Linked DNA regions of Homo sapiens: all the other regions are linked to region 6. Evidence: promoter capture Hi-C in 16 types of primary human blood cells and fetal thymus (Javierre and others, 2016). All regions are on one chromosome and are shown on one strand. Each heading gives the region's core, a stretch centred on a gene start or on the middle of the fragment in contact. The rest is flanking DNA. Distances are from core to core; before and after follow the strand shown.

The links. Contacts are between HindIII fragments. The CHiCAGO score rates a contact against its expected background, and 5 or more counts as called.
Region 1: a contact is called between a fragment that was not itself captured here and the fragment with the promoter of TMEM254 in region 6, in 1 of 17 cell types (naive CD8 T cells). The highest score is 5.5, in naive CD8 T cells.
Region 2: a fragment that was not itself captured here is called in contact with the fragment with the promoter of TMEM254 in region 6 in 1 of 17 cell types (naive CD8 T cells); the score reaches 6.3 in naive CD8 T cells.
Region 3: a fragment that was not itself captured here is called in contact with the fragment with the promoter of TMEM254 in region 6 in 1 of 17 cell types (M0 macrophages); the score reaches 5.7 in M0 macrophages.
Region 4: a contact is called between a fragment that was not itself captured here and the fragment with the promoter of TMEM254 in region 6, in 2 of 17 cell types (total B cells and activated CD4 T cells). The highest score is 8.0, in total B cells.
Region 5: a fragment that was not itself captured here is called in contact with the fragment with the promoter of TMEM254 in region 6 in 1 of 17 cell types (M0 macrophages); the score reaches 5.4 in M0 macrophages.
Region 7: a contact is called between a fragment that was not itself captured here and the fragment with the promoter of TMEM254 in region 6, in 1 of 17 cell types (M2 macrophages). The highest score is 5.5, in M2 macrophages.

What each region holds. Positions count from the first base shown.
Region 1 is chr10:79,315,037-79,317,736 of GRCh38, reverse strand. It overlaps ZMIZ1 (zinc finger MIZ-type containing 1), which reads right to left. Exons shown (of 25, transcript NM_020338.4): 25 at 1,218-2,700. Among named protein-coding and RNA genes, the nearest start is that of PPIF, 31 kb to the left of the region's middle. RefSeq lists cis regulatory regions at 1-44, 1-62, 1-121, 1-134, 1-310 and 4 more and an enhancer at 1-53. The HindIII fragment of the contact is 1,152 bases long and covers 717-1,868 here.
Region 2 is chr10:79,343,202-79,345,925 of GRCh38, reverse strand. No RefSeq gene overlaps it. Among named protein-coding and RNA genes, the nearest start is that of PPIF, 2.9 kb to the left of the region's middle. The HindIII fragment of the contact is 2,618 bases long and covers 130-2,724 here.
Region 3 is chr10:79,407,218-79,409,917 of GRCh38, reverse strand. The region is part of intron 2 of ZCCHC24 (zinc finger CCHC-type containing 24); the gene reads left to right. Among named protein-coding and RNA genes, the nearest start is that of ZCCHC24, 37 kb to the left of the region's middle. The HindIII fragment of the contact is 8,416 bases long and covers 1-2,700 here.
Region 4 is chr10:79,244,083-79,246,795 of GRCh38, reverse strand. All of the region lies in intron 7 of ZMIZ1 (zinc finger MIZ-type containing 1), which reads right to left. Among named protein-coding and RNA genes, the nearest start is that of PPIF, 100 kb to the left of the region's middle. RefSeq lists enhancers at 240-319, 350-399, 410-579, 800-879, 1,410-1,539 and 1 more and cis regulatory regions at 1,566-2,066, 1,440-2,272, 2,664-2,713, 2,668-2,713. The HindIII fragment of the contact is 936 bases long and covers 977-1,912 here.
Region 5 is chr10:79,366,889-79,369,632 of GRCh38, reverse strand. No RefSeq gene overlaps it. Among named protein-coding and RNA genes, the nearest start is that of PPIF, 21 kb to the right of the region's middle. The HindIII fragment of the contact is 3,581 bases long and covers 1-2,744 here.
Region 6 is chr10:80,077,331-80,080,030 of GRCh38, reverse strand. TMEM254 (transmembrane protein 254) reads right to left here and starts at 1,366. Exons shown (of 4, transcript NM_025125.4): 1 at 1,245-1,366. The coding sequence starts at 1,331. It overlaps TMEM254-AS1 (TMEM254 antisense RNA 1), which reads left to right and starts at 838. Exons shown (of 4, transcript NR_027432.1): 1 at 838-1,304. The HindIII fragment of the contact is 2,319 bases long and covers 1-2,194 here.
Region 7 is chr10:79,465,823-79,468,522 of GRCh38, reverse strand. No RefSeq gene overlaps it. Among named protein-coding and RNA genes, the nearest start is that of ZCCHC24, 22 kb to the right of the region's middle. The HindIII fragment of the contact is 5,662 bases long and covers 1-2,700 here.

The sequences.
Region 1 (2,700 bases), core at 43-2,542, 760 kb after region 6:
TATTCTCATTTGTTTTATTAAAGTGCTGGTCCAGCCCCACCACACTGCTCTAAGGCACAGGGAGGGGGGCATGTCTCCTACGGGAAGTTCTCCCTCAAGCTAACTAATCACCCTCCTCTCGGAGGGGTGTCTGTTCAGAGAGAGTCAGCCTGTCCTGGTGATGCTGGCAGAAGGCAGTGCCTGCAGCTGAGCAGTGGCCGGTGGGTGTTCCATTATTTAAGGTAAATCTTTTCTCCTCCTCACCTTCCACCTCCCTCCAAAAGGAGAAACTCCAGCCACCTCGGAGAGGCCCCAGGAGCAGGGGGCTTCTAGGCACCCAGCCCCCTACAGGCAGCACCCTGCAGCCTCCCCCACACCGCCGGCTCCTGCACACACATGCCCCTCACTCTCCTGACACCCGGATACATCTGAGTGGAGATCTCTGGGGTGCCGGCCCGGCCCTTCTTCCCTCTGTGGACAGTCCCTGTGGAGGAAAGGCCATGACAGCCACATTTGCTTTCCCCCTAAGGTGAGGCTGCGTGGAGGGAGGGCAGGGACTGGCTGCGGGGCTGTGTCAGATGCATGTTCCTAAAACTTCAATCGGAGACACATCAAGTGTTGTCAGTTTGTGTTGGTGCCGAGGCTGGAAGGATGGTTAGAACCATGGCCTGGGCAGGGGCTATCGTGAGACAGTACCCCATGTAAAGCATGCTCACGGAGGAGGGAAAACCCAAGCTTCCCTAGGAGGGGAGGGGCAGGTGTACCGAGAGGTGGAGGCCAGGGATGCTGAGATGCCAGCAGGGAGCCATGGGTGCAGTGAATGCTCACTCTCCATTGAAGCCACACTCCTGTGTGCTCTGAACAGCACCCTCTGTGGCTTAATATGAATAGCTTCCTGCTACTTAAACCCAGCATAATCCACAAGGGACCATCAAAGATGGGACACTGTTGCACACTCTGAGTCACATGCCACAGGGGCCCCTAGCACCCTGCAGCCACCTGGCCCTATTCAGCCACCCCAACTCCCCCAACCATCCGGCCACACACTGCACTTGCCCCACCAGGGACTGGTTCCAGGGACCCCCATGGACAGGGGTTCTTCCAATTCAACACCCAAACCACCTGCCTTTCTTTTTTGTGTGTGCAGAGGGTAACAGGGCGGGGGGTGTGGTTTAAAACAAAAGCAAAAACACCCAAACCACTCCTTAACATCCACAAAATAGCTAATTCGCCAAACCTTTGTTTTTGTCAATTTATTTAGAAAAAAATTAACATGGGCAAATGAGATACCTCAGTGTTACAACAGAGTATAGAAATGTCTAGCAATAGTCAAATAATTTGATCTTTAAATACAAAATAACCACATGAACACCTAATATACAGGTTTCATCTGAATACATATTTATTAGATAAATATTAGAGGTTGTCACATCATCTAACTACATACAGCTTTGCAAGACTAGAAATCACAATTAGTTTTTTGACCAGTTTAAAGTATGAAATGATTGCATTGTACATACGATGTACAAAGACGATGATGGTTTCTGTGGGAGTTACTTCAGGCTGCACTGGTGGGTGTGTTTATGTGTGTACGTGTGAATCACCTGTGATCATGATATCAAAAATTATACAAAGTATGAATTTGGTTACAATTTTCTTCTGAAATCCCCGTTTCTTTTCATTATTTCCATAGCACCCTAAAAATACACAGGTGGCAGGACTAGTACACTGAAGCTAAATAGTACATGTAGGTAAAATAAAAACAGAACAAAAACCCCTTTCCACTCAGGGTCAGAGTATATTACATGAGCGAGAGAGACAGACGTGGAGAACTCACAAATGCTATAACCAACAGGATCTAGTTTTTCCACGTGATGGAGTTCCAAGCTTTTTTTTTTGTTTTGTTTTGTTTCGCAAAATAAAAACAATACACATTCCAAGAGAAATGAATGCATCTGTTGACACGTCTCTATTTCTCATTTACATATGTACACACGTCCCTTGAGTCGCTGCTGTTGACACGGCCCTGTGTGGACGGGTCAGGCCCGAGGCCCGTCGGGAGCAGACCTGTAGCTCTCTGGGGGATCAGGGCTTCCATTAGGGAGAAAGTATTAGCAGTTTCTTAAAAAATAAAATGGCTACACGGAACATGATACATGGATAAAGCTTCAAACCAAGAAGATGGGGGTGATTGCCTGTACTTGGCCCTTCCCGCCTGCCTGCTGGCTCCCTGTCCATCTTGCGGAGTGGCGGCAGAAACATGCCTGTGGGCCGGGTGGATGCTTGGCATGGAAAAGTGGCTTGCAGAGGCCTCGTTTTTGCTGAGGTTACTTATGGCTCCAAGTAGTCGTCCGAAAGGATCAGGGAAGGATCTCTCCAGAGTTCAGGACCATCTCTGTTTATGGGCGTTGTCTACCTGCACCTGTCACAACCTGGGGCTTGCTCCCGCCCCGGATGCCTCTGCACCTCCCTCACACCCTGGCCTGGCTCCCAGAGCACTCCGGAAGAGCTTGTCTCCAGACTGCAGGCTGTAGGCACCACGCACGGTTCAGAGCCAGCCGGAAGGGAAGCTCTGGGCCGAGCTTGCTGGTGGAGGCTTGCTGGAGAGGGGACCCAGGAAACCCGCCTCAGGTGCTGAGCCCAGAGATGGTTGCAGGAGGTGCCCGGGGCCTGGGCTGCAGGGAGCATCTCGACTCTCCGCACTGGAAAGCCGTGGATCCA
Region 2 (2,724 bases), core at 189-2,688, 730 kb after region 6:
CCCTGAGGTGAGCAGGCCTGAGTGGGGAGCCCACTTGAGCCCTCAGCACATGTCCCAGACCTTCCTCTACCAGTGCATCCTGTGGATTTGAGAGTGGAGGAATCACGCCATGTGCCTTGTCATGAAGCTTCCTTAAGGCCCCAGGCTTCCCTGCGGCCAGTTCCAGGCCCTGAGCTCACAGGACCTTCAGCCACAGCAGGTAGCTCAGCGTACCCTGTTGTTTCTCAAGCCTGCTCCTGGGGGGACTCAGTTTATGCCCCATCCTGATGAAGCATGAGCATCCCCACCCCAGGGGAGTGCTGCCTTCATTCACTTGACCACTTCAGTTCTCAGAACCCTTTCCCAGCTGTGAACTCTGCCTGAGAGACAGCTCTGTTTTGCAGATGGGGAAGCCAGGCCCCAGGGGCTGGGGAGTGAATTGCCCAAGGGCAGGCTGTTGGAACTGGGACCAGTCTGTCTGACTTCACAATCAGGGTTATTGCATGTCAAACCCTTCTCACTCTCACCACGAAGCTGGTCCTTGGGACAGGGTGGGGAGGCAAGAGAGATAAGCCTGGGCAGACAACACAGTAAGATAGAAACGGTGGAGTTGGCCAGGGGGCTATGGAGCTCAGGGACTAGGGAGATGGTTTTAATAGTGAGCATGAGCTGAAAGGCCTGTGGGGACCCAATCACAGAGGGCTCTGAAGGCCTGGCTGAGGTCTGACATTGTTGGATAGCACTGGGGAGCCATGAATAGTGCAAAGACTCCATGCTGAGGACTCTGGACTGGGAACCAGCTTCTTTCATTCATGTTACTCCTTCCACTCTCTTTGGAAAATCAAACGTCATCACTACCTCCTAAGCCAGAGAAAAGCCTACCTTCCCCAAAGGCTTAGCTATGATGTCATCCCTTCCTGTTCTGTTCTCAGTGGTATCAGGAAGAAGGATAGTCTATAGGCTAAGCCATGAGCTGAACACATGCCCAGCCCTTGAGGGCTCCGGGCCCAGGTGACATCAGGCAGGTGTTAGCACTCACCTGGCTCTGAGGCTATTTATAGACTGTGTTATCCTCAGAAACAGCAGTGTTTCTCTCCACTCAGCTCACATGGTTTTTTATCCAGGGTGCTGATGGGTTTTGTCACCTAGGGATCCTGTAACACCACCTCTAGGCCTCACAAAGCCAAAGAACAATCAGTTTGTGCTAAGCTCAGAATCTCATTCAGGGGTTGCAAACTCAGATGCCTGCGGGGGCCAGGCAGGTGATACACATGAGTGGTGCAAGCTGGTAAGTATGTAGGGAGTGAGGGGAGGTGGCACTGTATCCAGATAGCTAATGGATGTCCCAGGTAAAGAGGTAGCTGCTGCCCAGGCCAGCCAATTATTGTATATGGGACTATGGGTCCACACAGGCCACCCAGGTTTTCTCATCTTTCAATAAAAGCTGAAGACTTTAAGTTTTATAGAAATCTAGTTTTCAAATTTTTGAAATGAATTTCAAAATAAAATTAAACACCGAATGAACTGTAAACACCGTATCCAAACTAGATGAGGACTCTGGGCTGATAGTTTGTAAGCTCTGATTTCCACTGTACAGGTGAGAGGACTGAAGCTCAGAGAAGGATGGGGAGTGGCCCGAGGCCATACAGCTGGGCAGTACCAGGACTGTGGTCAGACCCTCTCTTCACTCTCCCCAGGGCCCTTTCTGCAAAGTTCACTCAGCAGACATGTTTTCAGAGCACCTACTGTGTTCTGAGCCCTGAGCTTCACCCTGGGGATTCAGAAGGACAAAGACAGGGACAGGAGGTTATGGTGTCCTGAGATGCTGGAACTGCTGAACAAACCTCTCCCAGGTAGCCCTGTGTGTGGCAGGAGTGAACGCTGTGGTTGTCGTGGGGTACAAAGTTACAGTTGTTCTGGAGAGACCCTCCAGGAGGGGCTGGGGGTGAAGGTAGCCCCGGTGTGGGCATGAGGTGGGGTTTCTATAATATTAAATATCATGAAGGCTGAGATCATTACCAGTGCCAGTCACTGGGTCATACAACCTGTGCTGCCAGCCTAGACAATGGTCCTTAGGTAGGATGAGGCCATGGACTTCATCTGTCTGGTTATGCTTGAGGGGTTTGGGGTCCAGGATAGCATCTGTCATGGGAAGGGAAACTGAGAGAGAGGTTCCCCGCGACTCAGAAAGCCACCAGACCCTTCTACTGGGTTGCTGTGGGACTCTCTGGGGATGGAGTGTCCCCCGTGGCCTTTGCAAAGTCAGTACATTCATCATCCTCTCTCTGCTGGCTTCTAAGAACCAGACCATGATGGGGAGGCAGAGGCAGAGAAGGGAGGTTCCACTAAGGCCCAGGGAGGTGGTGGGCACAGTGATCAGAGAGAGACCCACAAGGGGAAGATGGGGCGAAGCTCTCCTCTGGAGTCCAGCTGGTCTTTTACTCGTGTGATCTGGATCACTGCGGGCCACTGAGAGCGGAGCCAGTGTGGTAGGGTGGAGCTCAGTAGGGTGTGGCTCACCCTCAGCTGCTGGGCTCTCACACAACCTGCCTGGCCACAGCCCCCTGCAACTCACAACTCAGCAGAGCTTGCCTTCTGGGAGTATCTGCAAGATAATCCATGTTTGTTGTTTGAAGCCACTAAGTGTTGGGTCATTTGCCATGTGCAGTGGATAACTCATACCCATAGTACCCCACCCCAGCCAGGACTCCTGGAAGATCCCATTGCTCCATGCACAGCCAGTCC
Region 3 (2,700 bases), core at 12-2,511, 670 kb after region 6:
AGCTCTTCTCTGGGGGACACAGATGGGTGCTTGTCTTGAGAGCCCCCGTCCTCCCCCTGCTCCTCCAAACACTCGCAGTGGGGACAGGAAGTGTCGGCCCTCGCCTTCCAGCTGCCCGGGTGGGACACCACTGAGCTGGGCTGGCCTGCTCAGGGAGGGACAGAGGCCCTATTGAGCCCGTTCCCTGGACCATCAGGGACAATAGCCACACTGAGGACCAGGAACAGCGACCAGCATGCTTGCCCAGGAAGTTGCCAGGCCGCTGCCTGCCCCATCCCCACACCTCCCCTACCCCTCTGGCTTTCTCTTCCAGATACTTCTCTCAGGCTGATAGTCATGTCCAAATGGTCACTTGCCCTTCACCTGCTCCCCAGAGCCCCCTGTCCTGTGCCAGACCCACGCTGGGCCCAGGGAATCAGAGGGGACCCCTACAGGGTCTCTGTCCCTGAGGAGAGGGCAGGGAAGGAGGTGACAGACACATGAGCTGAGAGGGGTGTATCCTAAGTGCTTCCTACAGAGATCCACAAGGTACAGGGGGTCCCTGGAGGGCAGGGGAGATGTCTGCTAGAAGTGCTGGTAGGAAAGGCTCCCTGGAGGAAGAGTCACAGTTCTAAAGAGCTTCCGCAGCCAGGGTTGTGCTTTGAAAGCCCAGCACCCAAGTGGCCCAAGCCTGGCAAAAACTAGCCTCTGTTACATGCCCAGAGGTGTGCAGAAGCAGTGGCCAGGACTTGGACTCTGTCCACTTCTCAAGCCTGTGTGCTGTCTACTCATGGAACTATTTGCATTGGAAGGATCTTTAGGGATCATCTAGGTCAGGAATGCCAACTCAAGTCATGTGTGCCTGCTGCCCCCGGCCATGGCAGGGCAGGCACCACGAAAATCACACCATTCTTGCCTGTCGAGCTTGGATATAGCTGCAGAATCCTTCACACCACAGTAGTTTTGTGGCAAGTTACGAGTGGACACACAGGGAGAAGTATTTGCCTTTCCTGATTTTACTTTATCCCCCCATCATGGACAGATGGGGAAACTGAGACCCAGGCAGGGAAGGGGCTTATCCCAGGTCACAGAGCTTGCTGGTGGCAGTGTGTAGGGACTGGGTCAGGGACAGGAAGGAGGTCAGAAACACCCACCTTTTGCAGTTTAGGCTGTGAACCGTCAGAGACTGGGAATGGGAATGGTTGACTGCCCTGAACAGACCTTCTGTATGGCTTCTCACTGTGAAGAGGGGATCCCCATTCTCCTCTGCCACGACACCCCATTCCTTCATATCTCTCATCACAGCTTTAATGATCTGAATGGGATACTTACTTTTCTTCCGCGCCTGGCTGTAAGTTCATGGGGGCCGGGGTTGCATCTGTCTTGTTAACCACCCTCCTCCAGTGCCTTGTGGGTGCCTAATTCATAGTTGTCGAGGGCACATGTGGAAAGGAAGTAAATGCACGTGGTGATTGGTGCTCCAAAGCCTTCCCTGCTCCCTGGCTGGTTGTTTGGCCTGCAGACAACAAGCGGGATCCCTGGGGGCACCTGGGATCCAGGCATCAAGCTGGTCAGATACATGCCAGTATATAGTAAGCAGCTGGCCTAACCTGGGTAGTCCCTGAGCTCCCTGCAGGGAAACTGAGGCCCAGAGTGCTATAATCATAAGCCAGGAGTCGTGCAGGCAGAGCAGGGAGCTAAGCTGGGGTCAACTGGCTTCCGTCCAGGCTTCTGGGCACCCAATCTTGCCACCAGCCTCCACATCTGTAGCTCAGGGGCTGACTTTTCCCAACAGCTGGGCCCACTGGGAGCTGTGTGTGTTGGTGCCAAGGCAAACATCGGTGGTGGAGGTGGGGGCAGGAGGTGCCTGCAGGCTCTGTGTTCCTTTGCCTTCCTGAACAGACAGGGCTGGAGCCCCTGAGCAGCCCGGCCTCCTGCTCCATGATCATTGTTCCCGGTGATGGTTTCCAGATGCTGAGGAGTCACAGGTTTGGGGCTGGGCCAGGAGAGCCAGGCCAGCCCTCCCCAGTACCCCGCCGCCACTGACACCACCGCCGGTCTTGCTTTTAAAGAGATGGGCCTTTCTCCCCCAATCCAGGCTTTCCCCTCTCAAGCCCAGCAGCCTCACTGTCCTGCAACCAGCCCAGCTCCTGGGGTGAGGAGCCCTGCGCTCCACTCCCAGCTCTGACCCTAACTTCCTGTATGGCTTGAGCAAGTCACTTGCCTTCTCTGTGCCTCAGTTTCCTGGGCTGTAGAATGGGCAGATGGGGACAGCATGGAGGTGACAGTATCTGACTGGACTTTAACAGACTGTGACCAGGATCACTGGGGCGGTGGCTCCCTAGGTGGGTCCCCAGACCAGCAGCAGCTGCACCGCCCAGGCATTTGAGACTCTGGTTCTCAGGCCCTCCCCAGACCTATTGATTCTGAGACTCTGGGGCCAGGGCAGCAGCGTGCAGTGTACCAATGCCCCGATGGTCCTGTGCGTGCTCTCGTGAGCGAAGAAGAGCGTGTGCTCTAGAAGCAGGGGCTCAGGAATCTGGAATCAGAAAGACGAGCACAGCCGTATGGCTTCAGAATGAGCCTTCACTTCCTGCTGGGGAATGTGGACTGGCGCTCCCAGCCCTGTGTGTGGCATGGTTACTGTGCAACAGTCAGCCTGGCTCCCACACCACCGAGTGCTCCTCTGGGACAGGCGCTCCCTGGGGGCAGGTCTGCACC
Region 4 (2,713 bases), core at 195-2,694, 830 kb after region 6:
CTGGAAGTGCTTCGAGGGTGGAGGCCTTGTTTTTCCCTTTGCAGGCTCCCTCGTGAGGCAGCTGCTGCTCTGCCAGGCCCTGGGAGAGTTTCCTCCTGCAGCCGAGGCTTGGGGAAGGAGGGCGAGGGAGGCCCAGCAGATGCTCTGTGACACGGTGTGGCGGGGCAAGAGCAAGGGTGAGGTGCACTCTGTACCAGTCAAAGGTCCCGAAATCCTTCTCCCTGCTGGGTTCGGGCCTGTACCCCTCTCTCTGAGGTGGTGCTAAGGATCCCAGCCACAGGCCCCACTGAGGAGTTCCTTCCCCATGGAGGAGCCAGCCTCTCCCGAGGGACCCATGCCGCATCGCTCAAGGTAAACACCTCCCTTGCCCAGAGAGCCTCGCGCCCGCTCCTTCCAGCTCTGCCAGCACAGAACTCTCTGTTCCTGAGGACCCGAGGCTGAGCTGGCGCTCCCGCCCGATCAATGGATGACTTCACAGGGACTGACGCCTACTGGCACCAAGACTGTCCCTCAGGGAGGTCTGAGGCTGCTCCTGGGACCGCTGCCCACTCGTGCCCCCTGGCTGACCTCTGCTGGATGACAGAGTGCTGGCCAAGGGGTTGGAGACCTGGGACTCATGCCACCCTCTTGCTGGATGACCTTGGGCAAAAGTGAACCTCAGTTTTCTCCTGTGTTAAATGGGAATGCCTGGCTGGTCTACTCCTTCCCCGCAGCAGGCTGCCACAAAACAAATGCTAGAGAAACAGGAGGTCTCTTTATCTAACAGACTCGCCTGCACTGTTACACTTGTGGGCTCTGAGCTAGTGTCCTCACTGCACCTCTGTCTTAAGTCTATCCTCCTGGACAGCGCTGTCTGTCGTCCATGGAGCTTCCTGTTGTGGTGGACATGTTCTAGAGTCTGAGCTGCCCAACAAGGCGGCTACCAGCCTTCGGTGGCTACTGAGTGCTTGAATGTGGTTAGTGCCAAGGATAAGCTTAACTCATCCCTTTAATTAATTGAAATTCACAAACAGCCACATGTGGCCAGTGGCTACTGTACTGAATGGCGTCATCTTAGACCCAGCTCAGTCACTCCTTACTCCCTGGGGCAACATTCAGGAAGCCCCGGGCAGGACTTCCGCAGAACCTCTGTGGAAGCACCTTTCTCCCTCTAGCTGCCTGACTCCAGACTAGGGACTCATCTCAGAGTTCCCAGGGACTGCATGGACTGGGTGCTCAACCAATGCAGACTGAGATCTGGAAGTGCTCTTTCAATCCCTCTGCCCCCCGACCCCGTCCCAACTCCAATGGGGAAAACACACCCAACCAGCCTTCCACTCGTGCCATCATCATTCAGCAGCCACTGGGCACCCACCATCCGCCAGGCACCACAGTTGGCACTGGGGCATACGGTGATGAGAAACACGTGGTCCCTGCCTTCAGGGAGCCCACTGGCATCAAGGTCTTGCTCCTGTTGGAGCCAGGCCTGGCCTCCTACATCCCCAACTGGATGATCTCGGGCACATCAGTTTTCCCATCTGAAACTGGGGCTCAAAAGTCCCTGAGCGCACAGGCTGTGATGAGAATCAAGAGGCATGAGAGAGGCACAGGGGCTCTGAGCCAGGGGAGGGCTGTGCAGGGCAGTGGAGGCAGCCTTATGTAGCGAGGTGTAAACTCTGTGCAGGCTGCGCTTCCGGTAAAGACCTAGATTCTCACCAAAGCATCGCCGTTTGGTGGTTTCTCACTAAGGAAGTTCAGGATAAAAATAGCTCAGAAGGGGACTTGAATCCAGCTAGTTGGAGGGTAGTCACTGCCTGGCTTATACACAAAAAAAGGGGAAAGGCTTGTTAGGAGCCACGTGGACTCCAAGAGTCACCCTTCCACGCAACCCCTGGGACAGGGCCTTTCCTCCATAGCAGATGGGAGATAAGCTTCAGGCCCAGAGCCCCATAACTGGGGGAGCCGGAGCCCCCACGTAACATCTGGGGTCACCCTGACTTCAGGATGGCACGGCCTTTTCACCCCAACTCACTCCTCAGCCAGATTTCTGACTCTCAGCCTGATTTCTCTCCTCAGCCCAATTTCTGTGGCCACTCTCAAAGATGGGCCAATGAGAAGCACACTGGCACCAACTCCATGCCACCTGCCACACAAAGCCTTCCTGCTGGAAGAGCCATCAGCCCTGCTCAACACTCATCTGGCAGTCTCGCCTGATGGTCAAGGGCGAAGGGACTGGGTCCCCACTGCAGGAATGACAGTCTCCTGAAACCCGTCTAAAGAAGTGCCAGCTGACCTCTCCTAGTTTCCCCCCAGAGGGCTTCTCGACCCAGGAACTGGTACCTATCTGGTGCCCACCGCACCATGGCTTGGCTTCGAAGACACCAATACCAAAACCACATGCTCAGGACCCCAGGCAGCCTCCTCTTAGTCCCTATCAAGGGGCTCTTTCTCCAAGGTCTTGTACAAGGTCCTCACAACCAGGCATCTCCTGAAAGGCTGCTTCCTGCCCTCTGGTGCAAATCCACCTCTCTCCTCTAGCCAGCTTGCCAGCAAACACTTGTCAGAAGTCTATTCGGCACCCACCACCTTTGCGAAGGGCACCCTGCCGCAATGGTGGCATCACCAGTGCCCGTGGGGTCTCTACGCGCTGGAGGCATCAGGGCTGCATTCTGACAAAGGAGCAGCTTGAAGTCGAGGACCCTCAGGCGCTGCCTCCGAAGGCATCCTGGCCGAT
Region 5 (2,744 bases), core at 73-2,572, 710 kb after region 6:
GAAAAAATGAACAAACAAACAAACAAACAGAAAATACAAAAAGAATGAGATCCCAGCCTGGACAACATAGTGAGACCTCTTCCCTACTAAACAAAAATAAAATAAAATAAAATATAAAATAAAATTTATTTAGCCAGGCATGGTGGTGCATAACTGTAGTCCCAGGTACTCGAGAGGCTGAGGCAGGAGGATCACTTGAGCCCAGGAAGTCAAGGTTGCAGTGACTTGACTTGATTATGCCACCACCCTCCAGCCTGAGCAAGAGAGTGAGACTTTGTCTCAAATGAGATCCTGAAATTTGGAATGGAGTCGCCTGATTGGATCAAAATGAAACCAACAACTTGAACCCTCAAGCTACTCTGTTTCTTCCTTACCAATGGAATTAGCTTGCTCTCCTGTGTCTGAGGAAAAGACACTTCTTTGCTTAAAAGCACTGTGATAACCTCATAAGGTTTGAAAGGGGATGCTCAAGGCCTGCTACAATCACTCCCCAGACCCATAATAGGTGTCGAATCTCAGCATTTTCCAGAGGAACAGCAGGATTCCAGAGGAAACAGCTTACACACCCAAAGAATTGTGAGACTTTGCTAATATAGATGCTCCTCAACTTGTGATGGGGTTACATCCTGATAAGCCCAATGTAAATTGAAAATGTCATAAGTTGAGAATGCATTTAATACCCCTAACCTACCAAACATCAGAGTTTAGCCTGGCCTACCTTAAATGTGCTCAGAACATTTACATTAGCCCACAGTTGGGCAAAATCATCTAACACAAATCCTTTCTTATAAGAAAGTGCTGAATATTTCATGTGATTTATGGAATACTGTACCAAAAGTAAAAACAGAATAGTCCTATGGGTACTCAAAGTACAGTTTCTACTGAATGCATATTGTAAAGCTGAAAAAACTGTAAGTTGAACCATCATAAGTCAGGGACTGTCTATACATATTTTTAAACAGATTTACTGAGATATAGTTCACACACTATACAATTTACCCATGAAAATGTTGATAGTATATTCACAGATATATGCAACAATCACAAAAGTCAATTTTAGAACATTTTTATCATCCCATAAAGAACCCTTGTAACTTCAGCCAACATGCATTGATACCCTGCCCCATCTACTCTCTTCAACCCTAAACAACCACTAATCTATTTTCCATCTCTATGGATTTATCTATTCTGGGCACGTCATATGGAATCATATACTATGTTGTCTTTTGTGACTGACTTCTTTCACATAGTATAATGTTTTCAAGATTCATCCAGGTTGTAGCAGGTATCAGTACTTCATTTCTTTTTATAACCAAATACTATTTCATTGTATGGCTATGCCACATTTTCTTTATCCATTTGCCCATGGATGGACATTTGGGTTGTTTCTACCTTTTGACCGTTATGAATAACGCTGCTATAAAAGTTTGTGTACAGGTTTTTCTATGGATGCGTTTTCATTTCTCTTGGGTGCATACCTAGGAATGGTATTGCTGGGTCATAGGATAACTCTATCTTTAATCATCTCAGAAACTGCCAGGCAGTTTTCCAAAGCAGTTGGACCATTTTGTATCCCACAGCAATGCTCGAGAGTTTCAAATTCTCCACATCTTTGCAAACATTTACTATTATCTGACTTTTTAATCTAACCACCCTAGCGGGTATAAAGCGGTATCTCATTGTGGGTTTGATTTGTGTTTCCCTGGTGACTAATGAGGTTGAGCATCTTCTCATGTGCTTATTGGCCAATCGTACATCTTCTTTGGAGAAATGTCTGTTCAAATCTTTTGCATGTTTTAAAATTGGGATATTTGTCTTTTTATCATGGAGTTGTCAGAGCTCTTCATATATTCTAAAAACAAGTCCCTTATCTGATATATGATTTGCAAATATTTTCTTCCATTGTGTGGGAGAACCACAAAAGTTTTAAATTTTGATGAAGTCTTAATCTATCTTTTTCTATTTTTGTTCCCTTCTGTTGCTCATGCTTTGTTTTCATATCTATGAATCATTTGGCAAATCTGAAAGACTGGATGCTTTCCTCTTAAGATCAGGAATAAGACACGATGTTTGCACATGTCACAAAAATTTATCCCTATATTTTCTTTAAAAAGTTATCTAGTTATGCCCTTATGTTTAGGTCTTTCATCCATTTTTGTTGTTGTTGTTTTTGTTATTTTAGAGAGGGTCTCACTCTGTGGCCCAAGCTGAGGTGCAGTGGTGCCATCATGGCTCAGTACAGCCTCAAAATGCTGGGCTCAAGTGATCCTCCCGCCTCAGTCTCCTGAGTAGCTGGTACTATAGGTGTGCCACTACAACTGGCTACGTTTTAATTTGTTTGTAGAGATGGGGGTCTTGCTTTATTTGGGGGGTTTAGGCTTCTTTGATCATTTTGAGTTAATTTTTGTTTATGATGTGAGGTAAGGGTTGAGATTTATACTTTTCTATGTGATTATCCAGTTGTCCCAGCACCACTTGTTAAGATTATTCTTTTCCCACTGAATGCTCTTGGCATCTTTGTTGAAAATCAGTTGACCATAGATGTATGAGTTTATTTCTGTAATCTCAATTCTACTCATATCTATCCTTCTGCCAATACCACACTGTCTTTATTATCATTGCTTTCATAAGTTTTGAAATCAGGAAGTGTGAGTACTCCTATTTTATTATTGTTTTTGGGGATTGTTTAAGTCAGTCTGGACCCCTTATAATTTTGTATGAATTTTAGAATCAGCTTGTCAATT
Region 6 (2,700 bases), core at 117-2,616:
TGACACCAACAAACAACACTGTGGACAAGACAAATCTCCAATCTCCAGGATCTATTGGTATACCCAAATAGCTTCGCCTTCCTTCAAAATTTTACCACCTTATCACTTGACGTTAGGAGTTCGAGGCCAGCCTCACCAATACCCATGTCTACTAAAAACACAAAAAAATAGCTGGGCATAGTGTAATCCCAGCTACAGGTAAAGACATGAGAATCGCTTGAACCTGGGAAGCAGAGGTTGCAGTGAGCCGAGATCGCCCCACTGCACTCCAGCCTGGGTGACAGAGCGAGACTCCGTCTCAAAAAAACACAAAACTACCACCTTAGCCCCCAACCTACTTTTCCACGCATCTTTCTCGTTATCCTTTAAACAGATTATTTCTCAGCCAAACAAACGTCGCTCTTTTTCTAGGTACAGCTTTCTTCTTGCTTCCACACCTATGTCAGAACAGTTATAGCCTCTTTATCCTCCCTTACCACTTAAATCCTACCCATCCTTTAGATTTATCCCCGTTTTCCAAACAATTCCTATTGGCTCAAACATTCTGCTTCGGAAGCCCTATTCTGACTTGGCAGGCCTATGGCAGTCTGTTAACTTGACTTTCCGCTTCGTGAGAGGCTTAGGCTCGGATAACCCGTTAGTAACCATGCAGAGGTGAGGACCCAAAGACAGGAACACTAGAAAGCAGAAACTATCCTAAGAGCCCACCGAATTTCCGCTTACATGAGTAACCGAGACAACCGTCAGATGCGCGTGCGCACAGGCCCCGTTCCCAGAGCTCCCCTCGCCCTACGAGGGCCCGGCGGGCCAAAACAGAGGCCCGCCCCGCCCCACCCCACGCCTCACCGCGAAGTAGCCCAGCCCCAGGACTGTGACCAGAGAGGGCAAGGGTCTTGCTGGACGGAAATAGGCGGTAGCCGCATTGCTGGCCTCCGACTTCACCATCCTCTTGAAAAACCCAGACACAGAGTTGGCTGGGAGCTCCCCAGCCGTCCCCGCCCCCATATAAGAAAAGCCTGGCTAGCCGGTTTCTCAGGGCCCTGGGCGCCCGCCCAAGACCCTGGCGGACCAGTATGCTTGCTCTCATTGCGGAGTCTGGTCCCCTCCCCTCCGCTCCTAGCGCGCGGGAGTCGGGATTGTGCTTGCACGACTTCCCCCGGCCCGCGGCCTGTGAGCCCAGGTCCTGGGGTGAACCGAGCGCTCGCTCGTTCGTCAGACCGTAGCGCTCCAGCGGCTGTCCTTACTGTGTAGTAGCCAAAGCTGAGGGTGATGACTGTGAACCAGAACAGACTGCCTCGCTGAAAGTAGGTCGCGCCGGCTGCCGTAGCCATGGCTGCAACACCTCCCCGGGAGCGCGCTTCAGGACACCGTCGAGCGCGAGCGCGGAGGCAGGGCCGGGGCCGGCCCGCGCTCCCTCGCCATCCCCGCAGGGAGAAGATGGTGCTGGTTGGGAAGTCCCTGAGAGCGAGTCTCCCTGTCTGGCCCCAGTACAGGGGCCTTGGAATCACACCTGGGCTCAGGTCTGGAGGGCTGGTCATCATCTTGTAGGGGAGACACTCCTGTCACTTTTCTGGGTTTAAGATAAAGATGTTCGGGCTGGCGCGGTGGCGTGTCCCTGTAATCTCAGCACGTTGGGAGGCTGAGGTAGAAAGATCCCTTGAGCCCAGGAGTTTGAGACCAGCCCGGGTAACATAGCTAGACTCTGTCTCGAATGAATGAATGAATGAATGAGGTGTTGGAATAAATTCCAGCAATTTGGGAGGCCGAGTCGGGCAGATCACTTGAGGTCAGGAGTTTGAGACCAGCGTGGTCAACATGGTGAAACCCCGTCTGTACTAAAAATACAAAAAATTTGCTGGGCGCGGTGGTGCCTGCCTGTAGTCCCAGCAACTCCAGAGGCTGAGACAAGACTCTCTTGAACCTGAGAGGTGCAGGTTGCAGTGGGCCCAGATCACGCCACTGCACTCCAGCCTGGGCAACACAGCAAGACCCTGTCTCAAAAAAAAAAAAAAAAGATGGTGTTTTACTAAGAGTCTAATTTTTGAAGTTCTCTGTGCTGTGCACCTTGAGAAATAATGCTGTCCTCATTAGTTAAGATGTTTGGAACTATACAGCACCATGGTTATGAGCAGGGACTGTGAAACAGGCTGCCTGGATTTAAGTCCTGGCTCTGTCTCGGCTATTTGTGTAAGCTTAGATTAATTACTTAGCCCGGCTGTGTCTTAGTTTCTGTATCTGTAACATGAGGATATGCCAGTTTTGGGAACCTCAGGGTTTTTAGGGTGGGTTAAATGAGTTGATATCTGTAAAGAAAGCACAGCAGTGTCTGGCCCATAGTGCTTTGTAAGTGTGGGTGATTATCAATACTGCTGAGCCTTTAGCATGTGTGCCAGGCCCTGTGCGAACTGTTGTATCATCAATGAGCTGTGGGAGGTATATGCAGCTGAAGTGTCTGATTAAACACTATTTAATCATAGAAATAGAAAATCATAGAAATAGAAAAACTATTTCACCTGGGCCTTAAAAATGGGTTACTGGCCAAGCGCAGTGGCTCAAGCCTATAATCCTGGCACTTTTGGAGGCCGAGGTGGGTGGATCGCTCAGGAGTTCGAGACCACCCTGGAGAACATGGTGAAACCCTGTCTCTACTAAAATACAAAAAATTAGCTGGGGGTGGTGGCGCGTGTCTATAGTCCCAAC
Region 7 (2,700 bases), core at 95-2,594, 610 kb after region 6:
CAAGAAGGCCTCACATGTTGATCAGACAGGCTGGTGGTCCTATGCTCTCCTCAACCCCTCTCCCCAGCTTTTATAGATCTTGTAGTAGATGACTGTAGTTGTGCCTTCCCCTCCCCTTCTTGGGAACTGTTCCACCCCATGCACACGCCTATAGAGGGGGCCCTAGCAGTATTATCACCCTTCCTCTGGGGCTTCTTTGACCTCAGGACAAGCTGGATTAGGCAGAGTTCTTCCCTCAGATTCACTGGGTTGGAAGTGGAAGAATCCCAATCCTTCCTTCTCCAGGGTGTGCAGGTCTGGAGCTGCTGCCAGTGTGCAGTGCAGGGAGAGAGCTGAGAGGGAGGGAAACAGAGAGAAGAGACACAGCATATTTGAGTTCCTGGTTTCTGTGTTCTTCAGCCCTGTCTGTCTCCTGCTTAGTGACACAAACCATCCTTAGGATCCAAGAGGAGCAGCCCATTTCCAGCCTCTTCTGAGGTCCAGCTGATCGGACTTTGAGTGGACGTTTGACCACGGAGAATTAATCCAGAAGCCAGGCAGGTCCACTATCTCCTAGAGCTGGAACATAGAGTGCCAGGGTCGGGTGTTTCCAGGGCTCCACTGGTGAGCCACCGATAAGCAGACAGAACCTTCAGACTGGTCATGAGGATTCTTACATAACAGAGAAAAACAGAAGTCCCTGGAGCCTGAGGAGGTTGGGGCAGAGAAAGGAAGGAGGCTGGGAGAGGGGCTGCCTGGGCTCCGGCCAGCTTCCCCCTTTGTGTCTTCACTGCCTTGAAAGTCCTGCCCTGGCTGCCCTCAGGTACCATCAGATATTTCTGCATCTATCTGGCAAATCTTCCCTTTTGCTCAAGCTACTTTGCCAGGGCTCTTGTTCCAGGTCCCTGGCTATCCTGTCCTTCAACATGGAGGCAACAGAGTCTGTGATCCCCCATAGGGGGCGCTGGAGAACAAGTTCTCACAATTGACCAAGGAGTTTACAGCCTTTTTTTTTTTTTTTTTTTGAAACAGAGTCTTGCTCTGTCGACTGGACTGGAGTGCAGTGGCTGCAACCTCCGCCTCCCGGTTCAAGCGATTCTCCTGCCTCAGCCTCCTGAGTACCTGGGATTACAGGTACACACTACCACTCCAGGCTAATTTTTGTACTTTTTAGTAGAGACGGGGTTTCACCATGTTAGCCAGACTGGTCTTGAACTCCTGACCTCAGGTGATCCGCCTGCCTCGGCCTCCCAAAGTGCTGGGATTACAGGCGTGAGCCACCATGCCCAGCCTACAGCCTTCTTTTGTTCAATTGAGATATGATTCACATAACATATCACTCACCTTTTTAAAATACAACATTTAGTGTTTTCTAGTGTATTCACAGAGTTGTGCAACCGTTACCACTATCTAATTCCAGGACATTTTCATCACCCCGAAATGAAACCCCATACTCTCTAGTGGTCACTTGCCATTATCCCTCCACCCTCCCCAGCCCCTGGCATCCAACAAGCTGCTTTCTGTGTCTACAGATTTGCCTATTCTGGACATTCATATAAATAGAATCATACAAAATTTGACCTTTTAAGTATGGCCGTTTTCACTTACCATAACGTTTTCAAAGTTTATTTATGTTGTAGCATGCATCAGCACTTTACTTTTTGTAATGGCTGAATAATGTTCACATTTTTTTGTACCCATTCATCCATTGATGGATATCTGGGTGATTTCCACTTTTTGTCTATTGCGAGTAGTGCTTCTATGAGCATTTGTGTACAACTATTTAAGTACCTGTTTGTTTTCAATCCTTTTGGGTATAGACTTAGAAGTGGGATTGCTGAGTCATGTGGCAATTCTCTGTTTAACTCGTTGAGGAGCCACCAAACTGTGTTCTTTTTTAAAATTTTTTTTAATTTTTTTTTTTTTTTTGAGACAAGACTCTCCCTATGTCACCCAGGGTGAAGTGCAGTGGCACAATCTCGGCTCACTGTAGTTTCCGCCTCCAGGGTTCAAGTGTTTCTCTTGCCTCAGCCTCCTGAGTAGCTGGGATTACAGGCGCTTGTCACCACGTCTGGCTATTTTTTGTATCTTTTAGTGGAAATGGGGTCTCACCATGTTGGCCAGGCTGGTCTCGAATTCCTGACCTCAAGCGATCTGCCTTCCTTGGCCTGCCAAGGTGCTGGGATTACAGGCGTGAGCCACTGCTCCCAGCCCCAAACTGTTTTCTATAGTGGCTGCACCATTTTACATTTCTACCATCAATGTTTGAGGGTTCCAATTTCTCCACATCTTTGCCTATCCCAGTGGGTACGAAGTGGTATCTCACAGAGGTTTTGATTTGCATTTCCCAAATGACTAATGATATTGAGCATTTTCTCATGCACCTATTGGCCATTTGTATGTCTTCTTTAAAGAAATATTTGTTTTCCCATTTTAAAAATTGGGTTATTTGATTTGTTTTCATTTGTTTTAATTTTTTAATTTAATTTTTTTTTTTTTTTTTTTTTTTTTTTTTTTTTTTTTGAGACGGAGTTTTGCTCTGTCGCCCAGGCTGGAGTGCAGTGGCGCGATCTCGACTCACTGCAAGCTCCGCCTCCCGGGTTCACGCCATTCTCCTGCCTCAGCCTCCCGTGTAGCTGGGACTACAGGCGCGCGCCACCATGCCCGGCTAATTTTTGTATTTTTAGTAGAGACGGGGTTTCACCATGTTAGCCAGGATGG